Regions from separate parts of the Homo sapiens genome. Here all the other regions are linked to region 3. The links are contacts of gene promoters, found by promoter capture Hi-C in blood cells and fetal thymus (Javierre and others, 2016). All regions are on one chromosome and are shown on one strand. Each heading gives the region's core, a stretch centred on a gene start or on the middle of the fragment in contact. The rest is flanking DNA. Distances are from core to core; before and after follow the strand shown. Region 1 has its middle 4.4 kb from the start of RENO1. Region 2 overlaps BAHCC1 (BAH domain and coiled-coil containing 1). Region 3 holds the start of LINC01977 (long intergenic non-protein coding RNA 1977).

Region 1 (3,944 bases), core at 588-3,087, 1.5 Mb after region 3:
CATTACAACCAGCAGGGACAAGATGGGTGCCCTCCGTGGCCCAGAAATCTGGAGGAGTCCTGGGGAGATGGGGGTGGGGACGTTGCTCTCGCTGGAGGGAAGAAATGACAGCCTTGGTGCCCAGAAGTGAAACCTGCTGGCAGGTGATGGCAGCTCCCAGAGGAGCCAAGGGGCCCTGGGACAGTGGGAGGGGGATGGCTGGGGTGTCTGTGGGAGGGCAGCCTCACCCTTGGCTGAGTACACTCAGCACAGGCAGTGGACAGAGAAGAGATCCCATTGTGGAATAACACCTGGAGGGAGCGGGGAGTCGTGGGCTCTGAGCCGTCAGCCACAGTTGAGGTGTCTGACCACGTGCTGCTGATGGACAAGCAGGGATCCCACACAAAGCTGGGATCACCAACCCCAAGGACGCACCACAAACTGAAGAACTAACACGAGCGAACTAACTAGCGCAGAGCCGGCGCTGTACAGCGAGATTGGGTGCCCCTCCTCCTTGGCCTGGGCTAGACTGAATCTGCCAGGTTCCCTGGCAAGGGGTGTGGCCAGGTGGCCACCTGCAGTGGAGGTGACAGCAGTGACGTGTGCCTCTCCTGTGACTGGCCCAAAAGGCCCTCCATTAACTTTTCCTTTCCCAGGGCCTGGCAACAACCAGGGTGACACAGGAAGCTTCGCTTGAGGACAGCAGAGTCACCCTCAGCCTAGGGCTCTGAGTGACTGCAAGAATCAAGGCCATTGTCAAACGGAAACCCTGCCATGGTTGTCAAGAGAGAAATCCACTTCTCTTTTGTTTAGGCATTTACACCAGCGTCTATGCCTCAGAGCAGTTTAACTTACAATTCAATTAGCAATTTAATCATTGGTTTTTCACTCCCCCGTAGCAGAATTTTACATCCGTCTGCTTGCTGTGGTCTCTAGGTGGTGGGTGGGCTCTCCTCCCTTGACTTTGGGCTTGGCGAGTGACGTGCTCTGGCTAGTGGGAAGGTAGCAGATTTGAAATGGGCAAAGGTTTGGAATGTGCCAGCAAGGGCAGCCTGGTCTTCCTGCTTGCCAGGGACCCACTACAAGCAGGCTGTGCCCCAGAGAAGAATGGAGAACGCAGATAACTGACGGGGGCTCCAAGAAGCGAGAAACCTGGGCGGACCTCAGCCCAGCCCACATCCCAGAACCCGGAGGCCAGGGGCTTGGCCAGGTGGAGGTCGGCCCTAGCCCTGTGAGCGTGAGACTCGGCCACCAAGCTTTAAGGTCGTCGTTATGCAGCACTGTTGTGGCAAAAGCCGACTGATACACCTGCCCTGGCACTTGGGGATACAGGGAAACGGATGTGGTGAATTGAAGATGATGCCACACGTCCCCTGGTGTGCCGAGGTAAAGGCTTGGGAACGCTGGGAAGAGGGAGGAAAGAGCCAGAAGGTTAGCGCGAGGCACTCATTCCCTGTAGCTTGACTACTGTTTCCAGAAATTGAGGGCCGGTTTGCAATTAGAGTTACCCCAGAAAGTTGGGACTCCCAGGTTGAAAAAGCCACTGTTTATGCCTCAAACAGTAGGAGAAAAGATGGTGGCTGTTCAAGGCCTGTCACTCAGGCAGCTCAGTCCAACAAAAGTGTGCAGGCCTACGGCAAAGATCAGATGAAGGCTCAGGTTGCGGGGGGAGGGGAGCAGATGGCTTAATGAATCATCTGTCAGTTGGACCCGGAAGACAGTCATCGGGACCCACGGAAAGGCTCTGCCCATCCTAGAGAGGCAGGCTTTGGGCTGGGTCTTCTCCCTGGAGATGATGGTGACTTTTTCTAACACGATGTGTGGAGGAAGGGTGGGTCTCACAGATGTCTGGAGGCCAAGGGCTGGCTGGCTGCCGTCCGGCTGTCCAACAGAAGCCGTTACCCCTTCTCATGGGGCCCCTGGCTGGTCTGCATTCCCAGGCTCCCTCGCAGTAGGTGTGGCTGGGTAACCGTGGTGTCCAACAGAATCTGGCAGAAGCAGTGTGCACCAGTTTCAGGAGCAGGTCACCCTTCCAGGAGGCTTTTAGGGTTCCCCCTTCTGATGGCTGAAATGGGCACATCAGAGAGACTGTGGAAGACAAATGTGCAAGATGACAGGGCAGCCTTCAGCCTGGGGCCCAACCAGGCCCCACCCCGCAGGAGCACTTGCTTGGGCAGGTCAGGGATAAATAAGCCGCGGGCTGGCATGGGCAGCTACGTTTGGGGTCTATTTGCTACAGTTGTGTAACTTGCACTGAGCAAGAGTTTCAGAACACACAGTGTTCAAAAACACCAGTAATAGCTTCAGAGAGAAAAGAGATTTTGTTCTTTAAAAAAAGAATCTGGGGAAGTGAACTCAGATTTTTGCTTCCTTCCTCATAATTTTAGGTAGTATTCAAAAATTTACAAGAAGATTCAGAAATAATAACCAAGAAAACTGCATTCATGTGAACAAATAAAAATAAGCTTTGGGGCTGGGCACAGTGGCTCGCGCCTGTAATCCCAGCATTTTGGGAGGCCAAGGCGGGTGGATTGCTTGAGGTCAGGCATTTGAGACCAGCTTGACCAACATGGTGAAACCCTGTCCCTACTAAAAATACAAAAATGAGCTGGGCGTGGTGGCGGGTGCCTGTAATCCCAGCTACTCAGGAGGCTGAGGCAGGAGAATCACTTGAATCCGGGAGGCAGAAGTTGCAGTGAGCCAGGACTGCGTCATTGCACTCCAACCTGGACAACAAAGTAAGACTCTGTCTCAAAAATTATAAAAAATAAATAGAGGCCGGGCACGGTGGCTCACACTTGTAATCCTGTATCTGGAATTGGTGGGTTCTTGGTCTCACTGACTTCAAGAATGAAGCCGTGGACCGTCACGGTGAGTGTTACAGTTCTTAAAGGCGGCGTGTCTGGAGTTTGTTCCTTCTGATATTCAGATGCGTTCGGAGTTTCTTCCTTCTGGTGGGTTCGTGGTCTCGCTGGCTCAGGAGTGAAGCTGCGGACCTTCGCGGTGAGTGTTACGGCTCTTAAGGCAGCGCGTCTGGAGTTGTCCTTCCTCCCGGTGGGCTCGTGGTCTCGCTGGCTTCAAGAGTGAAGCTGCAGACCTTCGGGGTGAGTGTTACAGCTCATAAAGGCAGTGTGGACCCAAAGCGTGAGCAGTAGCAAGATTTATTGCAAAAAGCGAAAGAACAAAGCTTCCACAGCGTGTAAGCAGACCAGAACAGGTTGGCACTGCTGGCTCGGGCAGCCTGCTTTTATTCTCTTATCTGGCCCCACCCACATCCTGCTGATTGGTAGAGCCCAGTGGTCTGTTTTGACAGGGCACTGATTGGTGTGTTTACAATCCCTGAGCTAGACACAAAGGTTCTCCACGTCCCCACCCGATTAGCTAGATACAGAGTGTCTACACAAAGGTTCTCCAAGGCCCCACCAGAGTAGCTAGATACAGAGTGTCGATTGGTGCATTCACAAACCCTGAGCTAGACACAGGGTGCTGATTGGTGTGTTTACAAAACTTGGACTAGATACAGAGTGCCGATTGGTGTATTTACAATCCCTTAGCTAGACATAAAGTTCTTCAAGTTCCCACTAGACTCAGGAGCCTAGCTGGCTTCACCCAGTGGATCTCGCACTGGGGCTGCAGGTGGAGCTGCCTGCCAATCCCGCGCCGTGCGCCCACGCTCCTCAGCCCCTGGGTGGTCGATGGGACTGGGCGCCGTGGAGCAGGGGGTGGCGCTCGTCGGGGAGGCTCGGGCTGCACAGGAGCCCACGGGTGGGGGGCGCGGGGCGGGGACGGGAGGCTCAGGCATGGCAGGCTGTAGGTCCCAGCTCTGCCCCACGGGAAGGCAGCTAAGGCCTGGCGAGAAATCCAGCGCAGCGCCGGTGCGCCGGCACTGTTGGGGGACCCAGCACACCCTCCGCAGCCGCTGGCCCGGGTGCTAAGCCCCTCATTGCCCGGGGCTGGCAGGGCCG
Region 2 (4,381 bases), core at 1,110-3,609, 1.6 Mb after region 3:
GTGCTCTAGAGGGCGCTGGAGGCCCCTCGGGGCTGCCTCTTTCAGGGTCTGAAGGGTCATGTGTCCCCGTCCCTGGAGGCCCCATTTCCTCCCCCCTGCGGACCGAAGAGAACGCTTGTGCTCGGAGATGTTCAACCCATTTGTGATGGGCAACTTGGTCATGCAGACATCCAGCTAGAAGCATCTGTAGCTGAAAGAAAGCCTTTTGAAATTGTTAAGAGCCAGAATATTGTATTGGTTTTTAAAATTTAGCTGCATGTATTTTTTTAAAAAAAGAATTATACCCCAGATCACTTTGCTTTGGTCTGTGTCTATATATGATCTAGTTTAGAGAGAAAAAAGCATAATTACGTTAAACAATTTTTTTGCGTCTTGTGTGCGGACTTCCACATGGCTGGTTTGGCTGCCTTGCTTCCCATTTTCCTGGATGGCTTCAGTCCGCAGGCCACAGCTGCAGCCAGCCCGCCCCTCCCTCTGCTGACTGCCCCTTGGAAAGGAAAATTGACCCGGATTCTTCCCGCCTGTCTGGGAGTAGAATCCAACCATCGGGGATGGAGGCCCTGGCCTCCATGAGGCTGCCTCTTTTTGCTGGGCTGCTCTTCCTGTGCCTGTCTGGCCTGGCACTGCCACCCCGGCTGGACTGAGGCTGTTCCTGCTGGCTGCCGGGGCTGCCTTTCCCCAACCCCACCCAACACTTTCAGAATGTCAGTCTGAGGGGCCCTGATGGGTGGGGACATGGGGCTCCCAGGCTTCTTCCATTGTTTTTCTAAAAATGAAAGTGCTGGGAGCTTTAGACTCGGGCCGCAGGTTTTATGGTAAAGTGCTGTTCCAGTAACCTTGTCACCAAAAGGTGCAATTAAAATGTTTGGAATCATTATTTTTAGTTCAGTGTTAGATTTTGTCTCTAATACAGATGGTCCGGAGGCAAAGCTGTGAAATCTAGGGGGGAGAAAAGAGAAATCAACAAGAACCAACCCAAGATTTTTCATCAGTGCTACTGCCTGGAGCCACTGGGGCTGGCGCCTCTGCTGGGAGTGTGTGTGTGATCCGAGGCAGCCCCGGCCTGGGGAGAGGCCCACATAGACAGCCCCCCGTCCTGGCTTCTGGCTGGGCCCGCTCCTGTCCTGGTCTGTACGCCTCCCCTCTCCAGGGGCCAGGGCTCCACCAAGGCACTATTTCTCATCTTGGTTTCAATAATCTGCTCAGATTCCCCTCCCGCCCCTTCTCTTGTCTTCTTTGGGGTGTAAATTGCTGAAGCCTGGGAAACCAGGTGCTCTGAGCCTGGGGTTATTGTGGGAGAAAGGCGAAGGCTCCTTCTGGTGGGAGAACTGCAAACTACTTCTTTCCTGCTGAAAAAGTGCTTCCTACCGCCAATCTCAAAAAAAAAAAAAGAAAAAGAAAATACCAAAAAACACAACCAAAAAATACCCCCAACTTGGCAGAGGAAAAAAAAAGATAATTTCCTAGTGTGAAAAGACCCCATCACAGGCTCCTCTCCCTCATCATGTGATATTTTTTTGTAAAGAAAAAAATACATTTTCTTAAATACCTCATTAACTCCATGACACGATGGAGTGTTTCTGCAACAGTTAGCAACATTAAGTAGGTGTGAAAAGAGTTACTTTCCGAAGACGTCACCCGTCCCGCTCCATAAGTGACAGAGTTAGACATCAAAGTTGCCGCGAGCCCAAAGGAGCTACGGGAATCCGGGAATGTGGGGCCGCGTGGACCGGCGGCGGTGGCCCGCCACGCCCGCCCCGCCGAAGCCCTGTTTGGAATGTGGGTTTCCCCCAGTGGGGCTCGTGCTGCCACCACGTCTGATTATCCCGGTACGGAGCCGCCGCGCTTTCTGTAGGAATATCCAGGTCACGTGAGTAATAAGGCAAATTAGTGAGCCAGGCAGAGAACGGCGTTGTGCAAATAGCACATCTCCCCTGGAAAACGCGCGTCCCCCCAAACGTTCCCCGGTTATTCTTAGAAATCTTCTCTCATCTCCCTGTGAGACAGGGTTCAACAGCCCCCACAGACAGGACAAAATGCATAGGAGGCTGTTAGAATAACATGGATGAGGCTAAAAATACCCCTCAGAAACACACATAAAAAAGCCAAATCCAACAACAGAACGAGCTAAAAATATTCCAGGCTTTGGCAAAGAGCACAGAGTTAAATAAATTATACAAGAGCCATTCATGGGAGCAAGTTGACTTTCTCTCTTACGGGAACTTGGTTCAAGCTAATAAAAATAATAATTTACTAGCCACTGAGCTTTGCATGAGTTTAAATTTAATTGGTGGGGCTTCTGGCGTTTGTCACTTCTTGGCGATTAGTGGTCTTGCCCTGGCCTGGGCCAGAGTGGGGAGGGGATGCCGAGGCTGGGGCTCCTGGCAGCAGGGTCATTGTCCCCTGAGAAGCAGGGCCTGGGTGCAAGGGCAGATTACCCAGGAGGCTGGAGGAGGATGGAGACTATTGGGGGTTCCATCCAGGAAGGCAGAAAAAGAACTGGCAAGGCACGGCTATTTTAATTTGATAAATGATTGTACACCTTTAAGAGTGTTTTAACAATCAGGATACACTCCAGCAAGTTGATAGGATGTTCGCTGTCAACTTACATATGTCATCAGAGCTGGCTGTGAGCATAAATAATGTGCGAGCGCTTGGGACAGCTGCAGTCTCTCCTGGAGGCTGAGGCGTGGCAGGTAGCACCTCTGTCCCCTGGCGGGCACCTTTGTTCTCCTTCTCTCTGTGTGTCTGGAGGCAGGGACCGGAGAACAGTCGTGGGGAATCACTGAATGCTGCTTTCATCCTGGGTGGTTTGGTTGGGGTGCCTCCTCTCTGCGGACTTTTTAGGTCTCCCCACGAAAATAAGAGTCCCCAGAACTACTTGACCAGAAAAGCCACTGTGGATATGATCTGAAGCTAGAATAGTAGCATCGTCTGGTGTGTTTTGTTTTTGTTTTTGTTTTGTTTTTGTTTTTTGAGACAGTCTGGCTCTGTCTGCCAGGCTGGAGTGCAGTGGCACAATCTTGGCTCACTGCCTCACTGCAACCTCTGCCTCCCTGGTTCAAGCCATTGTCGTGCCTCAGTCTCCCAAGTAGCTGGGATTACAGGCATGTACCACCACGCCCTAATTTTTTGTATTTTTAGTAGAGACGGGGTTTCACCATGTTTCCCATGCTGGTCTTGAGCTCCTGAGCTCAAGCAATCTGCCCACCTTGGCCTCCCAAAGTGCTAGGATTACAGGTGTGAGCCACCGTGCCCGGCCTCTGGTGTCTTTTGAGGCAGCAGATGTTTATATATAGCCACTTCCCAGGAGTTTTAAACATCCACCCTGGGGTTGGAGTAAGGGTAACTCCCTTTACTCCCTCCTCTTCCTTGGCTGTTTCTTAACTCAATCTGCCTCCCCCGCCCCCAATCCTGGCAGGGCCTTCTAACTCCCAAAGGACTATATTTCCCAGAATACCCTGATCTAGCTCCAGGGTCTGAGCCCGAGACTGTCCATGTCCCTGGGCTGGGAATTCCCAAGCACAGATAGAGTTCAGCCAGTGCCGCTGGGAATAAATACTTTCCTGGTGGAAGAAAGCCTTGCTCCATCGTGCCCCCCTGCCCTTCCTTCTGGAAGAGGCTTCTGGGCCCCCCGGTCTGGCTTCCTCCCTACCATAAATACCTGAATATAGGCCCATAACAAATGGGACCTGTCCTCTGTCCTCTGCCCTCTGGATCCTGTGAGGCAGCTACTGTGATTGTCCTGGCCAACGCCCCACCGGAGAGTCTCCCCCAACCCCCTGAGCTCAGTACATGGCATATGCCCTCTTTTGGAGTGGTCTTCTCAGAGGGGCCTGGTTGCCCATCAGCTGCTGTGGAAGCGATACAGGGACTCCTCCTGGGTAGCAGCAGGGCCAGCCTCTGCCTAGGGAGTCCCTCGAGAAAATACCGCCCAGCCTTTGGGGTGCCCCCTTGCCCTCCTGACACCCTCAAACAACAGAAGCTGCCTGCCTTCTTAATGGGTTCATCCTGAATGAGAGGTTTCCAAAAAGAAGCCCTCCCTCAAGACAGGCACTGCCTTGTTCCCCTGAGGAGGGAGGCAGGCTCGTCCTGGCCTGTCCAGGGGAGGGTCCGAAACCCTTGGCTCCTGGACAGCCTCCTTGAGGGGAGATGGCCTCCCCTTGTGTCCCCCACCTCGCAGACGTGCTGTGAATGGGCTTGGACTCAGAGCACGCCCCTGTCTGTTGGGTAGGTGGGTTACTTGCTCTGCATTCCCCCTCCCAGCCCCCGCTCCCCGCCCACCTGGGAACGGCTTCCCTGGGGTTCCCCGGTCCCCATTAACCTCTGGGACCTCATTTCCCCTCACCGAAGACACAGTGTAACAAGCAAAAAAAACATC
Region 3 (4,348 bases), core at 952-3,451:
CTTTCTGCCCCAGGAATGATCACCTCCATTTTACTGGTGAGAGGTTCAAGGACTTCCCTTCCTTCTTTCCTCCCTTCCCCTTCTCTCCACTTCCTTCTCCTTCCCTCCTACATCATTTTTCCCTTTCCTTTCTTCCTCCCTTCCTTTAGCAAATAGCCCTGGAGCAGCTGACCGGTTCTAGGAGCTGAGAACAGGGTGATGGGTAAGAGGGACAAGGGCTTGCTCTCACGGTGTTTACATTCTAGTGGGGGCAGGAGACAAGTCAACAGATCAATAATTTCAGATAAGAACAGCTGCTCTAAGAAGAACAACTGGGGAGTGAGATGCAGTCCACTTTAGGCCGGTGGTTGGGGACGGCTTCTCTTGAGAGGTGGCATTTAGGGGACTAAATGGTAACAATGAGCTGGCCTTGGGCAGGTCTGGGGGCAGAGCCATCAGTGCCAGGGCACAGAGCTAGGAAATGCAGAGCAGCTGGTACCCACGACTGGTCTTGCCTGAACCCCTAATCCTTGCTCTTTCTGCCACATCCTGCTTTCCCACTTGGCCAAAGAATTGTGGTTGGCCAAAGGTGGGGCTAAGCTGTGCAGTGGGAGGGGCCAGGCTGAGCTGGAGGTGGCCAGGAGCCTCCTGGTACAGGGCCCTGGTGCCAGTGTCCTCACCCTCCCAGAATCCTGTTCATTTGTGTTGAGGACATGGGGTGAAGGATCTGAAAATGCATGCGCAGGCAGACGACCCACCCAGGCCATTCACAGCCGCAGCAGTTTGGGACTCTCCGCTTGGCCCAGGTAGGGAGGCACTTGCGGTCCTTCCCAGGCCTGCCGTGAGGCTCCAGGGCCAGCGCCTATCCCCAGCCCCAAGGAGGCACTCCGAAGAACCTATTTTAAATCTCAGCTCAGCATTTTTGGCCAACTTACAGAGAAGCTGCAAGATGAGTAAAGGAACTTGCCTATATTTTTTATCTAGATTTACCAGTTGTTGACATTTGCCCATCTGCTTTGTCATTGGTGCTCTCTCTATTCTGTGTGTGTGTGTGTGTGTGTGTGTGTGTGTGTGTGTGTGTGTGTGTGTTTGTGTTTGTTTTGAGATGGAGTCTCCCTCTTGTTACCCAGGCGCGATCTCGGCTCATTGCAACCACCACCTCCCGGGTTCAAGCAATTCTCCTGCCTCAGCCTCCCAAGTAGCTGGGATTATAGGCACCGGCCACCACGCCCGGCTAATTTTTTGTATTTTTAGTAGAGACGAGGTTTCACCATGTTGGCCAGGCTGGTCTCAAGCTCCTGACCTCAGGTGATCCGCCTGCCTCAGCCTCCCAATATGCTGGGATGACAGGTGTGAGCCACCGCGTCCGGCCTTCCCACATATTTTTTTCTGAACCATTTGAGAGTCCATTGGAGACCTTGTGCCCTTTCTGCCTGCATACTTTGGGGTAGTGTGTTTTCCCTGAGATCAAGGACAAGATCTTACACAACAACCACAGTGCAATGGCCAGAATCAGGATGTTTAACATCAATCCAATACTGTTGTCTAACCCACAGTCCAGATGCCGTTTTCTCAGTCTCCTCAATAATGCTCTTTATAACTCACTTCTCTTTTCTGTTCCAAGAGCAAAGGATCCTGCGCTCATTCTGCGCCCTCTCCCTCTGGTCTCCTTTGCGCTGGGCAGGACCTTGGCCTCTCTCTGTGTTCTTTCACCTTGGCTTCTGAAGAGTACGCATCTGGGATTTCTTCGTGGTTGGATTCGGGCGCTGCGTTCTGGCGGGAAAACCGCTGGAATGACACTACGGACTTCTGGGTGCGGCTTCTCAGTGTTGGGAGGCCCACGATGGCAGTTTGGCCCATGATTGGTAACACTGGCTTTGATCCTTCCAATGTGATTTTTTTTTAACTTTTATTTTAAGTTCAGGGGTACAAGTGCAGGTTTGTTACGTAGGTAAACTTGCGGCGTGGAGGTTTGTGGCATAAATTATTTCATCACCCAGGTATTTTTTTTTTCTTTTTTGAGACGGAGTCTCGCTCTGTTGCCCAGGCTGGAGTGCAGTGGCCCGATCTCCACTCACTGCAAGCTCTGCCTCCCGGGTTCACGCCATTCTCCTGCCTCAGCCTCTCGTGTAGCTGGGACTACAGGCGCACGCCACCATGCCCAGCTAATTTTTTGTATTTTTAGTAGAGACAGGGTTTCATCGTGTTAGCCAGGATGGTCTCGATCTCCTGACCTCGTGATCCGCCCGCCTCAGCCTTCCAGAGTGCTGGGATTACAGGCTTCAGCCACCGTGCCCAGCCTCACCCAGGTATTAAACCTAGTACCCATTAGCTGTTTTTCTTGATCCTCTCCTTCCTCCCACCCTCCACCCTCCAAAAGACTTCCGTGTGTGTTGTTCCTTTCTATGTGTCCATGTGTTCTCATCATTTAACTCCCACTTATAAGTAAGAACATGTGGTGTTTGGTTTTCTGTTCCTGCGTTAGTTTGCTGAGGACAATGGCCTCCAGCTCCATCCATGTCCCTGCAAAGGACGTGATCTCTTTCTTTCTTTTTTTTTTTTTAGATGGAGTTTCAATCTGTCACCCAGGCTAGAGCACAGTGGCACAATCTTGGCTCACTGCAACCTCTGTCTCCAGGATTCAGGTGATTCTCGTGCCTCGGCCTCCTGAAAAGCTGTGACTACAGGTGCACACCAACACGCCTGGCTAATTTTTGTAATTTTTTTTTTTTTTTTTTGTGAGATGGAGTCTCGCTGTGTCGCCCAGGCTGGAGTTCAGTGGCGCCATCTCGGCTCACTGCAAGCTCCGCCTCCCGGGTTCACACCATTGTCCTGCCCCAGCCTCCCAAGTAGCTGGGACTACAGGCACCCGCCACCACACCAGGCTCATTTTTTGTATTTTTAGTAGAGATGGGGTTTCACCGTGTTAGCCAGGATGGTCTCGATCTCCTGACCTCGTGATCGCCCGCCTCGGCCTCCCAGAGTGCTGGGATTACAGGCGTGAGCCACCGCGCCTGGCCTAATTTTGTAATTTTAGTAGAGATGGGGTTTCATCATGTTGGCCAGGCTGATTTCGAACTCCTGGTCTCAGGTGATCCTCCCGCCTCAGCCTCCCAAAGTATGGGGATTACAGGCGTGAGCCGCCGCACCTGGCCCACGTCGTTCTTTTTTATGGCTGCCCAGTGCGGTGTTTTTGATTCGCACCATTTCCCGCCTCCTCTGGGCCTTTGTGTCTTCCTCGTCGTTGTCCTGGGCACCCCGGTCATCCTGGGTGCTCCTCGCCTGCTTCTGTCTGTTTCTGTTATGATGTTTCTCTGGTGTTTGGTCCCCGACCCTTTGGCTTCCTGACCTCTGTTTCTGTCTCTGTCTTTATCTCTGCTCTTCTCTTGGTTTCCTCTCTCCCTGCTGCCGCCTTCTCCCTTGATTTTATCCCTGTCTCATCCCTTTCTTATTCTCTCTCCAAAACACTGAAATGTCCATGACTGCAAGTGCCACATGGATCAACCACCAGGTTAACCTACAGCTAAAGACTGCAAGGTGCACCCTCTGGTTCTCACTTCTTTCCTAAGAGGATTAAAATGGAAGTGAGGAGAGTTCCCTCTGCGGAGCTGGACCTTGGAGGCCTCATACTCTACCCTAGGCGAGACTCATCCAGGAACTCATCTCCAGGCCCAGGAGAAAGGGCTGGCTTCAGGACCAAGCATTCCATAGGAAAGCTCCTCTCCCTGCCATCTAACTGCCTTCTGCCCACCCATAGGTCCTCTTGCACAGGAGGGCACACAGACCCCTACTCCCCTGTGGACCTAGGGCTGAGGTTCGCTGTGGTTTGGCTACAGCTGAGCAAATACTGTCTGTCTGCCTGCCAAGGCAGAGTCAACTCCCAGCTCTGAGGTTAGCAGGTTTCTCACCCTTTGAAGGACGGGGCCCACAGCAGCCTTCCTCTCCACTTGGTGGTCACCGGATTGGAGGAAGACCAGACCCTCACATCTTTCTGGGTTAGGCCCCAAACCACAGTCTGGAGAATGGAAGCCAGACCACGGCCCTCTAACAGCCACACTTGACCACTCACTCACTGCTTCGGCATTGAACTTTGAATTATGTTATCATCATTCCTATTACTATACCTAATTTTATAGCTGGTAGACAGGTAAACACTGTTCCTGACTGGAACTCAGATATCCACTTGTGGGCAAAGAATGGTCTCTCTTGCCCAACGATGATGTCTTGGCAATGACATCATCATTGCCAAGGTGATGATGTCAATCATTCACCTTGATGTTGACTTTTGTCTTTGGGGCCTCACTTTCCCCATTGTAGAACAAAGGGCTTGGAATAGAAACCCCCTGGTCCCTCTCTGTTCTGAGCTTCC

What was found. The method cuts DNA at HindIII sites, captures the fragments that hold promoters and counts their contacts. A CHiCAGO score of 5 or more calls a contact.
Region 1: a fragment that was not itself captured here is called in contact with the fragment with the promoter of LINC01977 in region 3 in 1 of 17 cell types (total B cells); the score reaches 5.4 in total B cells.
Region 2: a fragment that was not itself captured here is called in contact with the fragment with the promoter of LINC01977 in region 3 in 2 of 17 cell types (total B cells and naive B cells); the score reaches 5.8 in total B cells.

Annotation. Positions count from the first base shown.
Region 1 is chr17:81,348,384-81,352,327 of GRCh38, forward strand. No RefSeq gene overlaps it. Among named protein-coding and RNA genes, the nearest start is that of RENO1, 4.4 kb to the left of the region's middle. RefSeq lists an enhancer at 1-555. The HindIII fragment of the contact is 1,209 bases long and covers 1,234-2,442 here.
Region 2 is chr17:81,402,104-81,406,484 of GRCh38, forward strand. The region is part of intron 2 of BAHCC1 (BAH domain and coiled-coil containing 1); the gene reads left to right. Among named protein-coding and RNA genes, the nearest start is that of MIR4740, 3.5 kb to the left of the region's middle. RefSeq lists enhancers at 168-693, 3,485-4,039. The HindIII fragment of the contact is 5,924 bases long and covers 1-4,381 here.
Region 3 is chr17:79,821,251-79,825,598 of GRCh38, forward strand. It overlaps LINC01977 (long intergenic non-protein coding RNA 1977), which reads left to right and starts at 2,202. Exons shown (of 3, transcript NR_146504.1): 1 at 2,202-2,288; 2 at 2,545-2,624. The HindIII fragment of the contact is 24,167 bases long and covers 1-4,348 here.